3 separate regions of the Homo sapiens genome follow, and all the other regions are linked to region 3. Evidence: promoter capture Hi-C in human tissues and cell types (Jung and others, 2019). All regions are on one chromosome and are shown on one strand. Each heading gives the region's core, a stretch centred on a gene start or on the middle of the fragment in contact. The rest is flanking DNA. Distances are from core to core; before and after follow the strand shown. Region 1 has its middle 39 kb from the start of KCNA5. Region 2 has its middle 55 kb from the start of KCNA5. Region 3 holds the start of KCNA5 (potassium voltage-gated channel subfamily A member 5).

What was found. The method cuts DNA at HindIII sites, captures the fragments that hold promoters and counts their contacts. A contact is called where the count stands out against the background at its distance.
Region 1: a fragment that was not itself captured here is called in contact with the fragment with the promoter of KCNA5 in region 3 in 2 of the 25 tissues and cell types used here (aorta and pancreas).
Region 2: a contact is called between a fragment that was not itself captured here and the fragment with the promoter of KCNA5 in region 3, in 1 of the 25 tissues and cell types used here (heart left ventricle).

What each region holds. Positions count from the first base shown.
Region 1 is chr12:5,081,157-5,083,960 of GRCh38, reverse strand. No RefSeq gene overlaps it. Among named protein-coding and RNA genes, the nearest start is that of KCNA5, 39 kb to the right of the region's middle. The HindIII fragment of the contact is 3,219 bases long and covers 1-2,804 here.
Region 2 is chr12:5,097,711-5,100,816 of GRCh38, reverse strand. No RefSeq gene overlaps it. Among named protein-coding and RNA genes, the nearest start is that of KCNA5, 55 kb to the right of the region's middle. The HindIII fragment of the contact is 8,875 bases long and covers 1-3,106 here.
Region 3 is chr12:5,042,392-5,045,382 of GRCh38, reverse strand. It overlaps KCNA5 (potassium voltage-gated channel subfamily A member 5), which reads right to left and starts at 1,504. Exons shown (of 1, transcript NM_002234.4): 1 at 1-1,504. The coding sequence starts at 1,235. The HindIII fragment of the contact is 15,094 bases long and covers 1-2,991 here.

The sequences.
Region 1 (2,804 bases), core at 18-2,517, 39 kb before region 3:
AAGCTCTGAAAGTTCTTGCAGCTCTTGCTACCTAGTTTAGGAATTTTAGAAAAGATAAGAGAAAATGTGGGCAGAAAAAAAATCTGAAATTGTGCACTACATTCCTTTCATTTAATAATTATAGGTAAATTTGACTGAGTACATAATACATGCACAAAGCATTTTACAGGAACAATCTGATTTCATCATCACAGCAAACCAATGAAGTGGAGGCAATCCTCATTGCACGGAGTATTAACTTGCCCCAGTCCCACAGCAAGTAAGTGGCAGAGTTGGGACTTCTACTCAGTTAGACCTCAAAGCTCATCTTCACACCTACAACATGTGGGAGCCTCCTGGTGTGTGCTGGGGATGGCATGGCTGCTGTGCCAGGGGCTGGGCATAGAGATTGATGAGACACAAGTTTCTGACCTTAAGGGAATCTGGAAGATGACTGACACATGAATGAGATACAAGGTGCCAAGACTAACATACAGTGCTCTAACAGCCCAGAGGATACACCAGTTAATGGCCTGAGGGGTCATCAAGTAAAGTTTTGAAAACCTGAGAGGCAAAGAAGGCCATTCCGGGCACAGAGGAGAAGTGGTGCCAAGACACAGAGGCATAAGCTTACACAATGTCCAGAAAGAAGGTTAGTACATGATGCATAAAAAACAGAAGGAGATGAAATTAAAAGCATCAGTGAGGGTTGACACATGTATAGCCCAACATGGGGGTTGGATTTTCAACATCAAGGCTGGAGGTGGTGGTTTGGGCCAATGCGTTTTGGAGGATGGGGAAGGGAGAGGTGCTTTGCAGAAGGACGATGGTGTATGTTCCCACTGGCTGCACAGTCCTGAGGGCTTTTCCACCCTCCCATGGTGAACCTGAGCAAGTTCTTGGTACCTTAGTCAGGGGGGAAGGAAAAGGACATCTTTCTATGTTAAAATGAATGAAGAATAAATCAGAAATTTGAGTACCACTTTGGAAACCTACTGGGAAACTCCAGCTTATCTACTGAGGTTCCTAAAGGACCAAAGCCTCAGGCTCCTAGACAAAGCTTTGTGAAGCATAGGCAATGGTCAGGGCACAGTGGGAATTGCAGAAGGATGGGGCGCTGGCACTGTGGTTTTTAGGGACACTGCAGAAGAAGTTTCCTTTGGAACAAAGAGCTCCCTATTAAGAGTCAGGAACTAGAGTCTCAGCTTGTATTTGCCATCATTCTACATAAGTAGGAATCTCACCTGTGCTGGGGAATGCTTCCTTTTCACAGAATGGCATCTGAGCTAACACATCTTTTGTCTTTTGTTTTCTCTAGACTATTTCTTAATTTAAAGAAATTAAGGGCTCCGATATAGGGCCCTGAAATAGTCAGAAAGGCCAATTACTGAATGTGGGGAACCACAGAACCAAGAGAAAAATACAGTAACAACATTCTAGCGTGTGTGTGTGAGTGTGTGTGTGTGTGAGTGTGTGTGTGTGTGTGTCTGTTTCTCTAATCTTTTTCCTGTTCTCTAGGTAGAAAAATTCTTATTCTCCAGATAGTCTTCCTAGACACAATATTCCTGACCCTTGAAGAAACAATGTGCCCGCAGTAGCCTGACCCTTTAACACGCACTCGGCCTTCTTCTTTCACTCCCATGCTCCCTCCGCTGGAGCAAGGTGAGCCTTATCTGCCCCCTCTCCCACCCGGCTGTCACAGAGTGCCAGCTTATCCCTCCTGACCTCCATGGCTTTATCTTGCTTAAGAAGACAGATTTGGCAGTCCCAGAAATCAAAACATTTCTCTGTCTAGATTCTGCTGACCAAGATACAATTATCTCTGACCCATTAAATGCATTAAGTGGTTTTTATTATTATAGAAATAATTGCATGCCCATGATCTTAAAAAATAGCTACATCACAGAAAGACATGAAACAAGAAAATTCTCCCTCCTCTGCCCTCCAGAGATAACCGCAATGACTAGTTTCTGGCTTTTGTTCTTCTCATGGTTACCATCTTAGTAGAAAACAAAATGTTTATGCTTCTATTGCTGATTTACCTAATTTTAACAGAAATTGTTGTCTACCAAGTGTCACAGATAGGGAATTTGTTGAATTCTGCAACCTCATACCCTCTCCTCGCTGGATCTTAATTTTTATCAGTAACTATTTTAATTTTTCCCTAGTACTTATCTTTGTGACATTAAATAACATACCTAAAATTACTTTAAACATAAATAAACTTTTAAAATACTTAGAATTTTAAGATTAGTATTTCCTTGCAAATGTGGACAGTATCTGTTAACCTCTCTCTATGAAAGATGAGAAATTCCTTTTTCCTCTTTTCTATCTCTCAAAATCCCAATGTATTGTGTTATTTCGTCAATGTCGACAATGATCCTATTCCACGCCAAAGCATACCTTCTATCTGAAATTTTAACATTAATAAAACCCTGGTTTCTCTTGTTCGGTGTTAAGGGCTTCGCACATTAATACTGGTCTACAAAGGAAAATCCCCACAAACTAGCTGATACCCCCCTTCCGTTTCTTGAACTCCTCTACCTCCACCTCAATTACGTCATAACAGATAAAGCTGGATATATCTTTGAAACCATAGAAAGCTGAAACTGGGATAAGCAACTTGTATGGCTGGAGAAGAAGGGAGATTATTTCCCCACCCTCAGGCGTCCTCAGGGAAGCCGAGGATTCTCATCCAAAGCTTCCCTCCGCCCTGCTGGGTCACCAGACGGTCACTGTCCATCCGAGCACTCCGCCAGCCAATGGGGAACTGTGAAGAGAGACCCAAGCACGTTCCCAGGCAGGGGAGGAGGGGCTAAAGAGTG
Region 2 (3,106 bases), core at 260-2,759, 55 kb before region 3:
CTGCTGATGTTTGCAGCTGTCTGCTGACAGGAGCTCACCGTGGGGCAAGTCACAGAAGGAAAGGGTTGTGAAAAAGTAGGTTTAGAAACCAAGACCCATAACATTTCCAGTCTGAATTGTGCTCAACTGGATTCAGGATTTACAGCAAAATTGGAGTTCGAGGGTAGGAAATTTAGAGATGATCTAGTCCTAATACTTACTTCCAAGTTCTAGGAGGCAGAGGTAAAACTCTTATGCGTAGAAAAGTGTGCATAAATAAAGGTATTTAAGTGTTAAAAATAATAGGGGCAGCTGAACTACAGAATGCAATTAAGTATGATAGGGTTACTGTAAAAAGCATTTAAAAATTTAACTTCCAAACTTCCCAGTTGTTCTGCTGTAACTCTTTGGGTCAATAACTCCTCAAGGAAATCTGATCCTCAAAACCCTACTTGGAACTGTATGGGCTCCCCAGTGACCTCAGGAAAAAAGGTCAAAACCTTATCCCTTGCTTCACAGCTGAGGGATAAGCAGATCAGAGGGAGAAGTGATCATTCCTAGGCCATCAGCAGGTAAGTGGCAGGTGGGATGGAAACCCCATCTTCTGTCCTTTGTCCTGTGCTCTTCCCAATATGCCATACTACTTCACAAAGGTGTCCCAGGTCGTTGTTCCTGAAGAGGTGGCTGAAGGTAACTAGAGGCAGCATCTCTTCTGCAGTGATTTGAATGCCATCCTCCCTGAAGGCAGAGGGATAACCAGCCACAGCCCTGCCAGCTGAGCAGGCCATGGGTCAGTCCAGACCATAAAGGAAGTGATGAGTGTAGATGGACACCGTACCAGTCAGGGAAAACAAAAAAATCCTGCAAAGTTCTGGGCCAGAAATTCCTACCCAGAGTTAGAAAATTAACTGATAGCCCTTCTGCTCTAATTCAGAGGCATTTGAGCAATGCAGAGCAGTGAATTTTCCACGTTTAAGTCCAATATCATAAGGCATTTCAATTCCCCAAATCCCTTCTCTCTTTTCAGCCAGCTGTCTCCTTTCTTCATAGTGCTCTTTGTGTAGAGGCCTCTCCGGACCAGTCGGCTTCTATCATGGAAATCATTCTGTTTCCCGCTAAAAGGCGAAAGAAAATTCACCCACCGAACCACAGCAAATTGCAGTGACAGTGTGGAGACCCCAGAGAGGTGCCATATTGATTAAAATGTTCAAGTTAGTAAGAAAGGAAGAGAGAAGAAAGGAACCGTGTAGACTCTTTAAAGATAGGGACGGAGAGGAGGAGGAATAGGGGTGGAGGAAAACAGGGAAAGGAGCATCCACCTCTTGCAGCCTGTCCCCCTGGAGACCTTCCAACATGATCGCTGGGCACGCTGCGAGAAAAAGCATCTAAGGTGCAGAGGGCCAGGCTGGAACTGTTGCCCATCCCTGCACTCGCGCATGGCAGATGTGCATCGCCGATGCACTTCGCAGCCCTCCGCTGTCGCCCCCTTGTGCGGAGCAATACTGCGAGGTGCAGCCAGGAATCTGCAGAGCAGACCCTACCAGTGTAGTGGACAGTGGACAGCTGGATGCCATCTGGAGGTGTAGGTACAGCCCTAGTCCGAAGGGGGTTTGCAGGAAGCACTGAATTTTTCTGAATGACCTTGGGAATAAGGATCCATCACAAGTGTCAGCTTAAATGGTTCCCTGCATTAACAGTCATCAGTAAACAGAGTAGCAATGGCTCACATTGTGTCACAGTGCTTGACAAAGTGCATTATTTCATCTAGTCCTTGCTGCCTCCCAATAAGGGAGAGATTTTTGTCACTGTTTTGTGGATGAAGAAACTGAGGCTCAATGAGGTTCAGTGACTTACCCAGGAGACAGGAAAGCACAGTGCCTTGCCTTGAATGAGGTCCCAGCACTCCAGGCTCATAAAGCACCGTCTGAAACCCCAAGGAAAAGTGGTCTAACTCCTCCGCCTCCCTTCTACTCCTCTATGTGGCAATGACACTGACTCTCCCACCCTCATAGACCAAGGTGGAGCTGGTCTGACTGTAATGCTCCTCACGTGCTCTCCTGGTTGTATGTGAACTCAATTGGAACGGGCTCCAGTATCAGGATTCACTCAACAAATTTTTTTTTTGAATTCCAACTAGAAACTGGGAGATTCTGTGATTTTAAAAAATCCCAGGTCAAATGGGCCAGGAATTTTATTATTTTCCCCACTGAACAGAGAAAACAAGAGAAGCTCAGAATGAGACAGCTGCCTCAGTCACAGCACAAATCAGTTAGTCTAAATTCAAGACTTTTTGCACCCAACATGTCACCTGCATTCAGGGACCAAGCTCTTTTGCAGAGAAGTGGGAGACTGGACTGCATGACCTTGAGTACTCCCCTTGACCCTGGGGCTCTCATGGAGGACTGCGGCAGACTTGGAGGTGTTAGGGCTGTGATTCCTCCAGACTTAGTCTGGTGGATAAGTAGTTGAATGGGATCTCAGAGACTTTGGCTCTAGGCCTGAATTTTACCAGAGGCTGGATGCGTGACTTCAGGCAAGTCGCTTCACCTCTCTGGGAGTTGTTTTCCTGAGAGTGATCTGAGGGGTGGGATGGGAGGGTCTCTTCTTCCTGCTCCATGTGCTGGCCCCAGAGCCAGGTGGCCTCATGGGTTTGCTCTTCTGTGCTGGTTGCTGTTGAGGGTGTTGACTGAGTTCATCTGTTTACTGAGACACATGCAGCTGTCCCCCCTTCAATTACTTCATCACAGGCGCTGACAGACCCTCCGGGGCAGGGGTCTTGGCACTGCCTCGCTAGGGAGCATCTCCAATCATTGCCCGTCCTCATCAAATTCAGATTTATGGAGTGTGAGGGCAGAAGAGGCTGAGGAAGGCCACGGAACACATGGTCTCCAGGCCCCTCAGGAGCTTGTGCTCTGCTCTAGGGCCATTTCCCAAGACACTCTGTCCAGCGGGTCAGTATCAGGGTTCTCACCTCTCCTAGGGCAGACAAACTCACCATTTTAACAAGGCCACTCAGCAGCTTTACCCCAGCAGTGGTACAAAGCCAGACATGAAGCTCGTGTACTATTTCTGTTTTGTCTGTATTTTTTGGACCACCAATTATGCTATGGGTGTGATGAAGACCAAT
Region 3 (2,991 bases), core at 255-2,754:
TTGAAGATGCGGAACACCCGGACCAGGCGGATGACTCGGAGGATGGCCAGGGACATGGCCTGCTGCCCATTCTGGCCGCCTCCTCCACCCCCTGGCTGCTGCTCTGCCAGTTCGGTGCCCAGGGTGATGAAGTAGGGGAAGATGGCCACCACATCGATGATGTTCATGATGTTCCGGGAGAACCCTGCCTTGCTGGGGCAGGCGAAGAAGCGCACGAGCAGCTCGAAGGTGAACCAGATGACGCACGTGGTCTCCACGATGAAGAAGGGGTCGGCCAGGGTCCTGGGCAGGAGCGGTGCCACCGTAGGGCCAGAGGGCGGGGCCATGACCCCGCTGCCGTTGGCCCCAGGGGCGGGCGCGGGAGGCTGGTGGGGCGCCGGAGGGTGGCGGAGCAGCTCACGTTCATCCCTGAACTCAGGCAGGGTCTCCAAGCAGAAGGTGATGATGGAGATGAGGATAACCAAGACCGAGACGATGGCGATGGCCCGCGCGGACCCAGAGCTCTCCGGATACTCGAAGATAAGCCACACCTGGCGCTGGAACTCGTTGCGGGGCAGGGGCTTCTCCTCTTCTTTAATGAAGCCCTCATCCTCGCGGAAGCGCTCCATGGCCTCGTCCCCCAGCTGGTAGAAGCGTATCTCGTCCGCGAACACGTCCAGGGAGACGTTGACCGGCCTCCGCAGGCGGCCCCCGGACTGGTAGTAGTAGAGGATACCGTCGAAGCTGGGCCGGTTGCGGTCGAAGAAGTACTCGTTCCTCAGGGGGTCGAAGTAGCGCAGGCGCTTGGCGGGGTCCCCCAGGAGTGTGTTGGGGAACTGCGCCAGGGTGCCCAGCTGCGTCTCAAAGCGCAGCCCGGAGATGTTGATGTGGACGCGCTGGTGGTGCAGGGACGCCGTGCCCAGAGCCTGGTCCTCCACCGTGCCCAGGCCGGGATCGCCTTCTTCCTCCTCGTCCTCGGGAGGCGGCCGTCGAGGCCGTGGCAGCTCCTCTGGCAGCGGAGGCAAGGGCCGCACTCCCGGGTCCGGCAGCGGAGGCAAGGGCCGCACTCCCGAGTCCGCGTCTCTCTGCGCGCCGCGCCCCTTTGGCGCCGGCTCCTTGGGCCCATCGCTGAGCCCAGCCGTCGGGGGACACTGGAGCTCTCCCCCTGTGGCCTGGCCGCAGCCTGCCCGGGCCTCATCGCCTCCTCTGACGGTCATGGCACCGCCGTTCTCCAGGGGCACCAGGGCGATCTCCATGGCGCGGGAGCAGAGGGCATGCTGCGCCCCAGCTGACCGGCTCCCGCGCCCCCTACTCACGCTCCGCGGGCGCCTGGCGTCAGGCTCCGCTCCAGCGGTCGGCCGGCCCCTCTCTGGGGAGAGCTGGGGTTGCTGGCGCGATCCCCTCGCTTGGCCCTGACGTCAAGAAGCCGCTGCCCTGCTCTCTGCCTCTCTCTCTTCTGGCAGCCCGTTACCAAGCAGCCGAAAAGCCTCCTTCCAGCAGATGCAACCTTCAGCCGCCCCTCTCTGGCTGCGCCGCGCTTGGCCTCCACCCTCGGCGCCTCCCCCGCCTTCCCCTCCTCTCCCCCTCCTCCCGCTTCCCCTCCCGGGTCTCGTGGCAGCGGGTGTCTCCCCGGAGGGCGCAGCTGGGGCCCCTAGCAAGGGAAAGGAGGGGCTGAGAAGGGTGCAGCCCAGCGGAGGGAGGGAAGGAGTGGGGAGGATGGAGGAACAGGTTGTACCGACAGCGCTGAAATTCCCAGGGCAACCAGATGAGAATAGCTCTGGATTTCAGTTCACCTGGGAACCCGCTGGAAGCCGAGTGGACTCCAGGAGGAACGAAGTGCCTTGGGCTAAAGGGACGAGGCTTTGAGCTGAGTCGGAGTATGAGAGACAGAGACGGGAGACACCAGTCCTTTTTATTTTGGAGAAATAACGGTATTTCTTTGGGAAGGATTACAGAAGGGAGGGGGGCCACGTAGTTACGGACCTTGAAATACATGTATCAATGGAGAAGCATCTCTCTTCCCGTCTTCCTACAGATCCACAAAAATGTACAAGGGGGTTGGAACCCTGCAGGATTCCCATGCCCTAGCCTGTTTCCAGTACAGACCTGGTGGCAGCCCAGGCAAGCAGCCTAGTCAGGAGATGAGCTGTCTGGTCTCAACCCAGCAGAACCCCTCCACCCGCTCCAACGAATCCCATTTGCAAAAACCACAGCAGGGAAGGGGAGAAGCGATTTTTACAATCCTGGTGAGGGCTAATCCTGCCTGGTGAATCTTGGACCGAGCAACTGCATCTAGGTCCATGAAGGAGACTGAGGGTGGAGGTGGCTTATGAGAGGGAGCCAGGGAGGTTGTCCAATCTCCAAGGCTGGAGCATTCCCAAGAATGGAATAATAACAACCAATACTTACTTGGCTCTCATTATGCACCAGCCCACTCTCAGCACTTTACAAATATTGTCTCTGTGTATTCCTACAGCAACCTATTTTGTAAGTACTATTATCATCACCATTTTATAAATGAAGAAACTGAGGCACAGAGAGATTGACAGACTCACCCAGGCTTATGCAGGTGGAAACTGATGATGCTGGAACTCAAACTCAAACAATCAGAGTTTGGCCCTTGTCCCCTATATTTCACTCCTCTATAGAAATGCATAATCCCTTTTCCTGATACAAGCACTCCCTCACTCCAACATCTGGCCTGAGAACTTTAGTTCCCTGCTGCAGAAGGCAGGATGATGGCTGATATAACATATTAATCTTTCTAGGTTGGGACACTAGGAAATCTTCCCCTGCCCTGTCTCAACCCCTGCAGGGTTTTAGCAGGCATTGGTAACCAAGAGGAATCTGTTTCAAGGTGTGTGTCTGGAACTGCCAGACACAGTCTCCAGAAGTTTCTTGGTTTTAAATTATCATAAAGTGGCTGTGTTTTTGAATGTCTGTTTTCATTGTCTATTTTTGTTTCTGCATATTGCTTCAGATTTATATGCGTGAAGTTAGGACCTCTTGTCA